Linked DNA regions of Homo sapiens: region 2 is linked to region 1. The links are contacts of gene promoters, found by promoter capture Hi-C in blood cells and fetal thymus (Javierre and others, 2016). All regions are on one chromosome and are shown on one strand. The core of a region is centred on a gene start or on the middle of the fragment in contact, and the rest is flanking DNA. Distances in the headings are between cores, read along the strand shown.

Evidence for each region. Contacts are between HindIII fragments. The CHiCAGO score rates a contact against its expected background, and 5 or more counts as called.
Region 2: the fragment with the promoter of CLPTM1L here is called in contact with the fragment with the promoter of LPCAT1 in region 1 in 2 of 17 cell types (naive CD4 T cells and monocytes); the score reaches 6.1 in naive CD4 T cells.

The regions. Positions count from the first base shown.
Region 1 is chr5:1,521,155-1,526,561 of GRCh38, forward strand. It overlaps LPCAT1 (lysophosphatidylcholine acyltransferase 1), which reads right to left and starts at 2,806. Exons shown (of 14, transcript NM_024830.5): 1 at 2,556-2,806. The coding sequence starts at 2,690. RefSeq lists an enhancer at 329-833, silencers at 1,994-2,193, 2,464-2,773, 2,794-3,193 and a cis regulatory region at 3,963-4,198. The HindIII fragment of the contact is 5,602 bases long and covers 357-5,407 here.
Region 2 is chr5:1,342,918-1,348,324 of GRCh38, forward strand. It overlaps CLPTM1L (CLPTM1 like), which reads right to left and starts at 2,182. Exons shown (of 17, transcript NM_030782.5): 1 at 1,763-2,182; 2 at 1,434-1,534. The coding sequence starts at 1,924. The HindIII fragment of the contact is 23,624 bases long and covers 1-5,407 here.

The DNA of each region.
Region 1 (5,407 bases), core at 1,556-4,055:
CTTTGATACCTCTTTTCAGATCTTAATGTGCTGTTTTCTGTCCAAAGAGATACTTAAGCTCCTCACTAAATCTGTAGTTAAATGACAGATGGGCTGGCTGGAGGAGGAGGTGTCCCCGCATGGCGCTAATCCGAAGACACACAGCAGCCCCTCCCAGGCGGCAAATGCTCACAGGTAAATGCAGGTACTCACTGGTTTATCTCAACTGGGAACTTAGCTGGGTTTCTGCGGGTTCTTGAGTGTGTCAGCCACTACTGGACCCATTTCTTTCTTTGGGGAAGAAGGCTTTCTTGGCTTGAAAGACAGGCTATTTCACTCTGTGGAAACTTTACAAGAATATATCACATCAAAGTAAAAGCTTTGCAAAGCAATGCTTGGTGAAAAGCAAAATGTTTCTGCAGAGAACTTTGAGAACGTTTACAAACTAAACCCTTGAGCCACACATTGCAGACATCCAGCAGAAACGACTGGATGTACAAACACACCTAATTCCTCAGATGGAACCTCTGAAGTGGCAACAAAGCAAGCCCCCTCTCTGAGAGGCCCCAACACCTCAAGCCAGGATCTCTGCCTGGCTTCGGCCCAAGGGAGAACAGCTGCCCAAAGCCTTCAATCTCGGGACCAGGAGCCTCTCGATGACCCCCTGCCCAAGAGCCACTGGGAGCAGCTTGCACCCTGAGGTCTCGGGGAGGAAAGCAGGCCCCTCTGGGCACTCTGGCAGTGCCCTGACATCTGTACCTACCCATGAGAGTCTCTGCCCTGCTTCTCGCCAGGGCAGTGGGTGCACACTTTTGGACAGAACACACCTCAACCGGGGGCTGCAACTATGACAGGGATGACGAAGTGGCCTCCGGGGACCTCCAGGGAGGGGCTTGATGTTTCCCCCCAGGGAGCCAGGAGGGAGTAGGAAAGGCAGGAAGAGAGAGCATGCCTGAGGCAGCCATAGCTGGGGCAGGAGCAGGGCTGGGGAAGCCCTGGAAACCACAGCAGGGGTTCGAATTTCATCCGGGGGCGTCCCCGCTGAGGGCTTCCGAGCAGCAGAGTGCAGGAGGAAGAAAGCCTGCTGGGAGTGACTCAGGGAGAGTGACCAGGGAGAGAGCCTGGTGGCTGGGTGGGGGTGAGGATTGAAGAGGAGGAATGGTTGAGGGGCACAGAATGAGCGACCGTGTCCCAAGTCCTCCTTTGAGGGGCACAGCACACGGCAGCTGACAGCGTGTGGCAGACAGAGGGCCAGGCAGAGCGGCGGCAGAGGGGCCGGCACCGCCCCAGCCCCAGAGTCCAGCTCCCGACACACAGGGAGACGGGGGCCAGGGCCTGGGAGCCAGGCTGGGGACGACCTCACCCTGTGTGTCACCAGGAGGGGCGGCACCATCGGGCTCTCCTGCTCCCCGTCCCCTTCCATACCCTGAGGACCAGCCGCATCAAGGGGCTTTGAGCAAAAGCAGGCGTCCTGGGAAAATGACAAGCTCAAACTGGCCTCAAGAACTTTTCACTTCAGGGTTCTTTCAGATAAAGTACTTTATGCATTAACAAATCTCCATCTTCCCGGAAATCTATTCTCACAATTGGAAGCGTGCTCCCTACAAACCGGACAGCCCCATAGGCCCCGAAACAGTGCTTGCTTCTAGGAATTATTCTAGAGTCAAAAGTAAGGTCCTCTTGAGAGTGGATCTCAGGTAACTGTAAGCCCAGCTGGCAGCCAGGTAGCCGGAAAAGCCAGGCTGAGCCAGCACATCCCCGGTGCAGCTTCCTGCAGCGAGCGGCCCCCTCCCCACGACGCCCCCGGGTCTCCCCTCACCACTGTCCCATCGCAGGATCTCAGCAAACCGTTCCCTCCCACGTGGCAGCCCAGGTTGCATAAAGTTGATTCGGGTCAGACCAGCCCCGAGAAAGCATCCCTTACAACAGGAGCGAAGCATGCACCCCAGAAGGCAACGTGCGGCCGCAGAGCAGGGAGACCCGTGCGCCTACAGGGGACCCTACAGGGGACCCGCACCGCCCGCGCGCCCTGTCCCGGGCACCACCAGGCCCCGCACACGAGGCTCACCCAGAGCCGCGGTGCCCTCCCGCCCGCGGGCCGCGTCCAGGCAAAGCCGCTCCGGAGTCCCCGGGCTGCGCGCAGGGCCTGCCAAGGCGGGCGGGGCCCGGACCAGGGACGAGCGCGGGGACCGGCGATGCGGGTCCAGCCTCCCGCGGGAGCCGAGGTCGGGGCTCTGGGAGGCAGAGAAAGGGTTGTGGGCCCGGTTCAGGGTGCAGGGGTCTGGGGGGAGGAGCAGAACGCGGGGCGGGGATGGGAAGCGGGGACCCCGAGGAAGGCGCTGAGGGACCAGGATGCGCGTGCGGGCGGCGGGAAGCCGGCGCCGAGACCGAGGCATCGGGTGCGGGCGGCGGGGACGCGAACTGAGGGGCGGCCGCGGGGAGGGAAGGCGCCGCGGCTCGCAGGGCCGCGCCGCGCCCCAGGCCCCCTCCCCGGCCCCTCCTCGGCCGCGCCTCCCTGGCCCCAGCATCCCTGGCGTCCGCGCCGGCTCCCGGGGCCGCGCGCCCTGGGCACCCACCTGGGCCTTCTGCAGGGCGCTGAGGCGCAGCTCGTGCACGAAGGGGTTCCGCCCCGGGGGCGCCAGCAGCCGAGCGTCGCTGGCCCCTGCGCTGGAGGCAGGGGCGGCCCGGGGTCCGCATCCCCGCAGCCTCATGGCCGCGCCGTCCCGCGGCGAGCGCAGCCGAGCTGCCTGGGGCGCCGAGCGGGGCCGGGGCTAGCTGGGCGCGGGTCTCGGGGCGCGGGCCGAGGATGCGCGGCGGCTGGAGCGGGCCGGGCGCGCAGGCGCGGGAGGTGACGTGGGCGGAGCGGGAGCGCCGGCCGGGGCGGGGCGTCCCTGGAAGCCTCGCCTCCCGCCGGCCGGCAGGGGCGGCACCAGCCGGAGTTCCGCTACCTGGTGGTTTCTCTGGGGTCTGTGGGGGGCCGGGGCCGCTGGGGACCGGGGGCGCCTCCTGCAGCCACTGGAGCACAGGGATCCCCGGCAGGGTCTGCGCCAGGAGAAAGGGAGGTCCCCCGGGCCCGCGAGGCTGCCACGTCGTCCCCTTCCGCCGCTCGGCCCGCCTGCTCGCGGGGAGGGAGGAAGGGGCGGGCACGCGTCCAGCTTACGCGCAAGGCGGGCCAGGCCCTGGGTGCCGAGCCCCGGGCTGTTCCGGCGAAGGCCCCACGCCATTCTTCTTATTCGTTGGGCTCCTAGCTCGCACCGGCGACCCTGGAAGCTGCCCCGGGCTGAGGGAGCTTCTTCCAGCCGCGCCTCAGCCCAGGCGACTCCCGCCTGAGGTCCACTCGACCTTAGGACCCCCCAGACCTCGGGATCCCCTCAGATCTCAGGACCCCTCAAGCCTCAGGACCCCCTCAGACCTCAGGACCCCTCCGATCTCAGGACCTCTCAGGCCTCAGGCCCCGCAGGGATGGCCCAGGCAGGAGGCGCACATAGGGGCCCTGACTGTCCGTGCTGGTTGTGCAGGGGCTGCGATGAGATCCCAGCGCTTTCTCACCCGTAGCTGCTTTGGCTCGGGCATTGCCCTTGTGGTGCTCAGGAGCCGTGTGAGGAGCCCCAGGGTGGGGCCCATAATTAGCCGGAGCGAGAGTAGGATGGGCTCCTGCCTCCGGGTGAACACGCTTGGATTTCAGAACTCACGCAGGCCTTCGGTCACAGTGCTCACGGCTTCCTCACCCCGGCTGGCCCTGTTGGTTCCTTCATGGCCAACGGACCTCACCCAGACAGAGCCGGTTTGGGCCACCTGGCCAACCCCCCAGGGTCCTGGCTCCTGGGGATGTCACTGCTGTGTTGGCCCCAGCTGGGCCCCATCCTCAGCAGACGCCAGGGAGTGCCCCGACCCCTCCAATGACCCTGCCTGCGCCCTTGTGGACCTCATAGTGCAGCGGGCTGGCAGAGACCCTTCTGTGTCTGAGACCGGGGTGAGGGCCAGGGGTCTGTGCCATCCACATATCATGCACAGAGAAGGCCCCGGCAGGCCAGACCCGCTGCATGGCCTTATTCCTGCCCCATAAGAGTCCCAGCCCATATTCCTGCCCCATAAGAGTCCCAGCCCATGCCTAGCAGCAGCACCTGTCCCAAGTGCCACACCCACGGGGATGGGGTGAGCCCTGTGTGCTGGTGGGCATTGGTGGCTCTGTGGCCCAGCCACCAGCGTTGCACCCACCTCCTGGGCTTTTAGTGGCCACTTGCTCTGATCCCCAAAACCAGAGCCCAGCACCCGAGGCCACCCAAGGCTCCTCACCGAACTGATCATCAAGAAAGCCCAGGACACAAAGCCTGCCAGCCACAGGGCAGCACCTGCACCCCAGCGATCCAGGCGGCCCCACCTGCTGCCTGAGTGCTCTGGAGAGGAGGGGCCCTAGGGTGTCCCAGTCCTGGGATGAGAGCAGCCTCAGGACTGGACTTGGAGAGCCATGAAAGTGGGGTCCTCCCAGAAGCACAGGCCAGGAAGCGGTGTGTGGCGGAGGGGAAACCTGCTGGAGATGGTGCAGAGCCAGATTCAATGGGGAGAGCTGCCAGAGAGTCATGGCTGTGTCCCCAGAAGATGCAAAAGTCCTAACCCACAGCACCTGTGGCCGCGACCTTATTTGGAAACAGGGTCTTTGCAGATGATCAGGTTAAGAGGAAGTCATTAGGGTGGGCCCTAGTCTGAAATGGCTTGTGTCCCTATAGAGAGGGAGATTCGGTCTCAGAGACAGACACAGAGAGAGCTCCATGGGAAGGCCAGGGTTCTGCTGCTACAGGCAAGCAGTTCCCAGGAGCTGGAGAGGCCTGGAGCAGGTCCTCTCTAGTGCTCTCAGAGGGAGCCTAGGCCTAGGGTGCCATGATCGCAGGCTTCTGGCCTCCAGACTGGGAGAGAATAAATTCCTTCTGCTTTAACCTGCAGAGTGCAAAGTGAGTTGGAACCCAGGGAAGGAGGTGGGGAGGCTGGGGGAAGAACCTCATACTGCCCGGCAATCTAAGCAGGGTCAGCAGGTTGTCCTTGAGCCAAGGTCGGTGGAAAGAGGAGTCCCTCTCCCAGAGGGGTCTTAGGTGGAGCCACTGTGGGCAGCGTGGCCTTGGTGTAGAAGCTCAGTGGATCCTTGGGTCACAGGCACCATGTGGAGGAGGCGCAGAGGCCCAGCTCCGGGGTCAGTACACAAGGGGGCACAGCTGGGAGGGTGGGTGTGACAGGGCCAAGGGCTGTGCAGAGCAGGGGGCAGGACTGGGGCACACTCGTCCTCACCAAGCAGAACCCAAGAAGGCCCCAGAGAGCGGCCAAGGAGCGGAGGTCCCCAGAGGGGCTGAGTCCACGGAACTGCCCCATCCAGGAGGACTGGCCAGGAGAGAACTGGGAAGGCCAGCCAGTGGTAGTAGCAAGGGTGGAGACCACC
Region 2 (5,407 bases), core at 932-3,431, 180 kb before region 1:
TGCGGCGGCTCACGCCTGTAATCCCAGCACCTTGGGAGGCCGAGCCGGGCAGATCACGAGGTCAGGAGTTTCAGACCAGCCCAGCCAACATGGTGAAACCCTGTCTCTACTAAAAATAAAAAAATTAGCCAGGCGTGGTGGCGGGTGCCTGTAGTCTCAGCTACTTTGGAGGCTAAGGCAGGAGAATCCCTTGAACCCGGGAACCGGAGGTTGCAGTGAGCAGAGATCACGCCACTGCACTCCAGCCTGGCAACAGAGCAAGACTCTATCTCAAAAAAAAAAAAAAATCTTACGGCCAAAGTTGTAATGAAAAACACAAAGGCATCTATGGCTCCTCACTACCCAGGAAAGAGTATGTCTCCACCAGGACATCTTAAGTGTCTCTCTTCAGGCAGAGGGTGCAGGGCTGTGTATTTCTGGTGGAATGTGCACTTGGAGACACTTGAGGCGGAGCTGTGTTAAGAGTGCTCATTCTCCCCACTTCCTCCAGGCTGACACTGTGCCAGGTCAAATGGAAAACCTCACTAGCTGTCCTTGGTAACTGGTACACGGCCCGGCACGGAAGAGGCAGTATTCATGTCTGGGAAATTAAACCCAGTGCAGATGAATCCTGAGCATTTTTGAAAGGTGTGGGCAGCTACAACCGAGCGGGCAGCTTGGTCACCAGCACTTCTGGCCTCCCCTTCATGGAGGCAGAGAGAGGGCAGGAACTGGCTTGAGGTCACAGGCCTAAAGAGGCCAGGCAGAAACCGGCTTGCCAGCGCCTCCAGCTACCCCCAGGGACTGGCTGCCTAGAGGGCGTGGAGTCCAGCATGAGTCTCAAACTTTCATTATTCTCTCCTCAGATACCTCCCAGGCAATGAAGGGAAATGGTTGACTTGTGAGAAGCAAATCATATTTAAAAGTATACTTATTCAATTAAAAAAAATTAGGCCATGTCAGATGTAATTTTTAAGATACTCTACATATTTGGACATTGATCTATTCTAACGTCACATGTCACTTATTTATGATTTTCTACAAAATTGCTTCCTCTATCCTCATCTCTTTTCCCTCACAAGTAACTTAAGCGAACTACTTCCACCAGGAAAAGACAAGTTGGTCCCCGGTAGTGAAACTGCAGAGTTGTCTGCTCTCCACTGGTTCACCAAGCGTGGCCCCTGCTCCTTCGGAGCCTCCCCGTCCAGGACATCCCACTGCCATCACACTCTGCTGAGAACTACTTCTTAAACGACATTCATCACCTGTCACCTTCCAGGCTGAATGTTTACAGGCCACGCATAGGCCTCCAGTTAGGATATTCTACCACTTCAAGACATTCGGTAAGACTAGTTCTCTAAAATAAACATGTTATGTACAGAAAGCTAACTTTTAAACAATCTGAACATGAGTAATGTTTTCCCTTTCACTGGCATTTTGTCCTACGCCCATACCTTTCAAATTTGGACTCCACATCAAAGTCTTCCACATTCAAGACCAGGTCGATGTTGTTCTCAGCACCCAGGTGGGACCTCGTCGTGGTGTACACGCTCAGCTGGAAAGGAGGGGGCGTCGAGAGTCAGCTCGGCCAGGCCCTGGCAGGACGCACTCAAATCCCACGGCCAGCTGGAGGGCGGAAGACCTGGCCGCTGGGGAACCAGGAAAGGTTCCATCTCGACTCGCGCGGCCACAGCTCCGAACTGGGACGGGAAGGCGACGTCTGGGGCCTGGAGGAGAGGCCCCCACCCCAACCCGCCCGGCCCCCGGCCCCGCGGACGCTCACCTGCAGCTTGGGCCGCCGCGCCAGGTAGGGCTGGATGCAGTTGGCGTCGCCGGAGCACGGGCGGGTGTAGACGATGCCGTACATGACCCAGCAGGTGTGCACCACGTAGACCACGAACACGCCCACCACCAAGCTGGTGAAGGAGCTGCGGCCGCTCCACATGGCGGCCCCGCGCCCGGCGCCCCCGGCCCGCCCGCCTCTCAGCCGCGAGCCCCGCCCGCCCGGCGCCCAGCCCGCCGCTCCGGGCTCCGCCGCTCACTGGAGAGCCGCCGCGCGCCACCGCCACCGCCGCGGGGGAACGAATGCGCCGCGCGCCGCAGACCGCCGGCCGCCCCGCATGCTCCGGCCCCGCTCCCACCTGGCGCCGCGGGATTCGCCGGCCCCGCGCGCCGCTTCCGGGCCCCGCCGCCTGCCGGAAGTGGACGCGCCGCGCGGCTCCCTGGGAAACGGAGTCTCGGCCGCTGCCGCGCACGCGCATCCAGGATGCGGCGCGTGTGTGACGTTACCCGCCCGCGCCGCCCTCCTGGGGTGCCTCTCAGGGACCCAGGCGCTCAGCTGCTGGGGCCGCGGAGGGCGTTCGCGGGGCGCCGGGGAAGGCTAGGGCCGCGGGGTCCCCGGGGCGCCGTCCCCAACCGCCGACGCCTGCCAGACCACCAAGTGGGGGCCATGTCGACGTGTGAGGAGCCTGGTGGAAGGTGATACTGGAATTCCGGCACTGGGCCTGCAACCCTTTTAGTCCACAGTTGTCAGAATCTAAAGGGAAGAAAAACGAAGTGCTCAGAACCCTCACAGAAGCCGGGCACCTCATCCCGTGTGTGGGTTTTTTCCCCAGTACAAACCCATTGTGGGGACAGGCGCTTTTGAAGAAAAAATTCAGATTCCCGGGCTGAAGTGGCTCCTCACAGCCTTGAACCTGACCCCCAGCTTCCCGCTAAAGCCGAGCGTGCCCAGCACGGCGAGGTCAGCAGAGGCCCCTCGGAGGGCGGCCGGGGGAGGTCAGTGGGAGGCCCTCGGGCAGCCGGTGGATGGGCCGGCGACCTCCCCGACTCCATCAGAAGCGCTCAGTCTGTGCCCTTCAGTTACTGGAGCAGCTCCCGTCCTTTGGCCAGTTCTCTGGAAGGTCGTTTCCGTTTCTGTGTCTGCCACACGTGCAGCACAATCGAAAAACCTTGTTCGACATTTCTAGAAAGAGTAGATGCTACTGAAGACCCAATAGATTGCTGAGGGTTTTCAGAGCAGGGACAATTGCATCAGGGTGCTGGGCTCCGGGAAGAACTCAGAGGACTTGGCTGACGGGCGGATGGGACAGTGATTGGTGCCGAGAATGGGCCAGAGAAGCAGGTCTGCCTGGAGCAGGCACCCGAGGCCGCGTGCAGGGGCGGTCCTGGGCCACCAACCCCTGGAAGCTGGGCCAGGAGCTTCGGAGCCATCCGAGGCTTTTTTCGCTCCTCTCACTCTCATGCACCTAGTTACCCTCCCCACAGAGTCTTCTCACGGCGCGGTTTTCGGCTACCATTGCAGTGGTGTCTGACTACACCCAGTGCCTCTATCGTTCCCCCCTCAGTCTGTTCTCGCTTCTTGGCAAACCTGTCCTTGGAAAGCCCTCTGCTGACTCCTGTTACCCTGATCAAATGCATCCTCCTCAGGAGGCTCGTGAGCCCTTTGCAGGGTGGCCCAAGAGGCATCACGCCCTGCTCTCCAGCCACTCTTGGGGTCCCCTACAGGGCCAGGCGTCCCACACCAGCAGCGGGTGCTGGTCCTGCCACAGTCTGTGCGACACGTGAATGAAGGCTGTAGACCTGTGGTCTGCGGGAGGCAAATTCCAACTCCAGCTGTCAAACATAAGGGGACTGGTAGGCTCTCCAGGGTGGATTGTCTCACGGCATCCAGAGGCAGGGACCGAGGCAGGGACCTAGCCAGGCCTCGGGAAGGAGCTGCAAACCCAGGAGCTCTGGGGTGTGGCTTCATCTCCCTCCCTCCCTACCACCCTACCCCCATCTCTCCGTGTTCTTCAGATGCCTCATTTTCCTGTCAGGCACCTGGCCAGCTCTAGGAGCTGGAATCAGGTTGGTGCCTCCTTGGTCAGTGTCCACCCCTAGTGTCATCCACAGTGACCAACGGAAGGGGTGGCCGGTGGTACAGGACATTGGCCATCTTGGGAAAGATCACAGAGACAGGAAGGGCCTCTCCAGCTGAGCAGATGAGAGGTTCTTCAGTGGTCTGGACACATTTGCCCACTCATGGCCGTCCCCCTGCCCTGTTGAGAGAACCGATGAGGAAAGGGAGCCCTGCATCTGTCGCCTTCCGACTCCGACCGCCTGAGGCTGGGCTGCCGGCAAGCCGCGGCAGCATATGACAGCACTTGAAAGAAAGTCCCTGGAAAGAATGTGGATCATTGCAGAACTCCCTCAAGAAAGCGCCAGAGGAGGACCCCATTCAGCACCCCGCAGAACTCCTCAAACTCCTGCGTCCACACTCCCCCAGCGTGGTGGCTGCTTCTATCTCCCCAGGCTTAGCTGGCCTGGGTCTTGAAGGCCTCTCCTCCTGCTGTCCCCACGCAGCATCCTCTCTGCCACTGCACAGCTGGATGCAGTGAAGGCCAGGCGGCTGTGGCTGCTTGGGCAACAGGAGCTGCTTGACCCTGTTCTGCTGGCCTTGTTGGCCTCACTCCCGTAGAGAGCCAAGGTTACCCACGTCTCTGAAGCTAAGGCTTTCTTTCTAGGCCTGGGGGAGTCACATCTTGCATTCGTACTCACTGAGCTCCACGTCTATGGTTAGAGAATTTATCAACATTTTATAATGCTTTTATCAATTCCATCATTTGAGGGCCCTCTGGCAAGGAACCTGTTAGTACATGGAGTGCCTGGAATGTTCCAGAAAGCTAACATGAACAGCTGGCCCTTGCTGTCCTTATACATTGAGGACTCCAAAGGCCACTCAGGATGACAGGAAATGCAGGCTCCAAAAGATTCGGTTCCTTTGTGAGGCCCTCGGGCAGTGGTCAGACACGAAGGAAATAGGAAATCACCCCCAAACCACACCTCTCCCTATGAGGCCACAGCTGCCGATGCAGCCTTGGGAGGGGGATGGAGGGAGAGAGGAGGGCATCTGAATGTGGACACACCCTGCTGTGAGGGCTGTGGGCGGTCCTGAGACTGGAGCCAGCCCCCAGGCTCAGCTCAGCTCGGGGACCTCGTGCCCGGGCTTTCCTGGGGAGGAAGGTGTTGGATCTCCTGCCTCTCTGTATTCATTCACACTTTGGGTTTCTCTCTCTTCCGCGCATTCTAACATCTGCAGGATTTTTTTTTTTTTTTTTTTTTTTTTGAGACAGAGTCTCGCTCTGTTGCCCAGGCTGGAGTGGAGTGGTGCGATCTCAGCTCGCTGCAAGCTCCGCCTCCTGGGTTCACGCCATTCTCGTGCCTCAGCCTCCAGAGTAACTGGGACCACAGGCGCCCGCCACGACGCCCAGCTAATTTTTTGTATTTTTAGTAGAGACGGGGTTTCACCGTGTTAGCCAGGATGGTCTCGATCTCCTGACCTTGTGATCCGCCCGCCTCGGCCTCCCAAAGTGCTGGGATTACAGGCGTGAGCCACCGGGCCTGGCACATCTGCAGGATTTATGGATGAAGGGCCACAAACCCACAT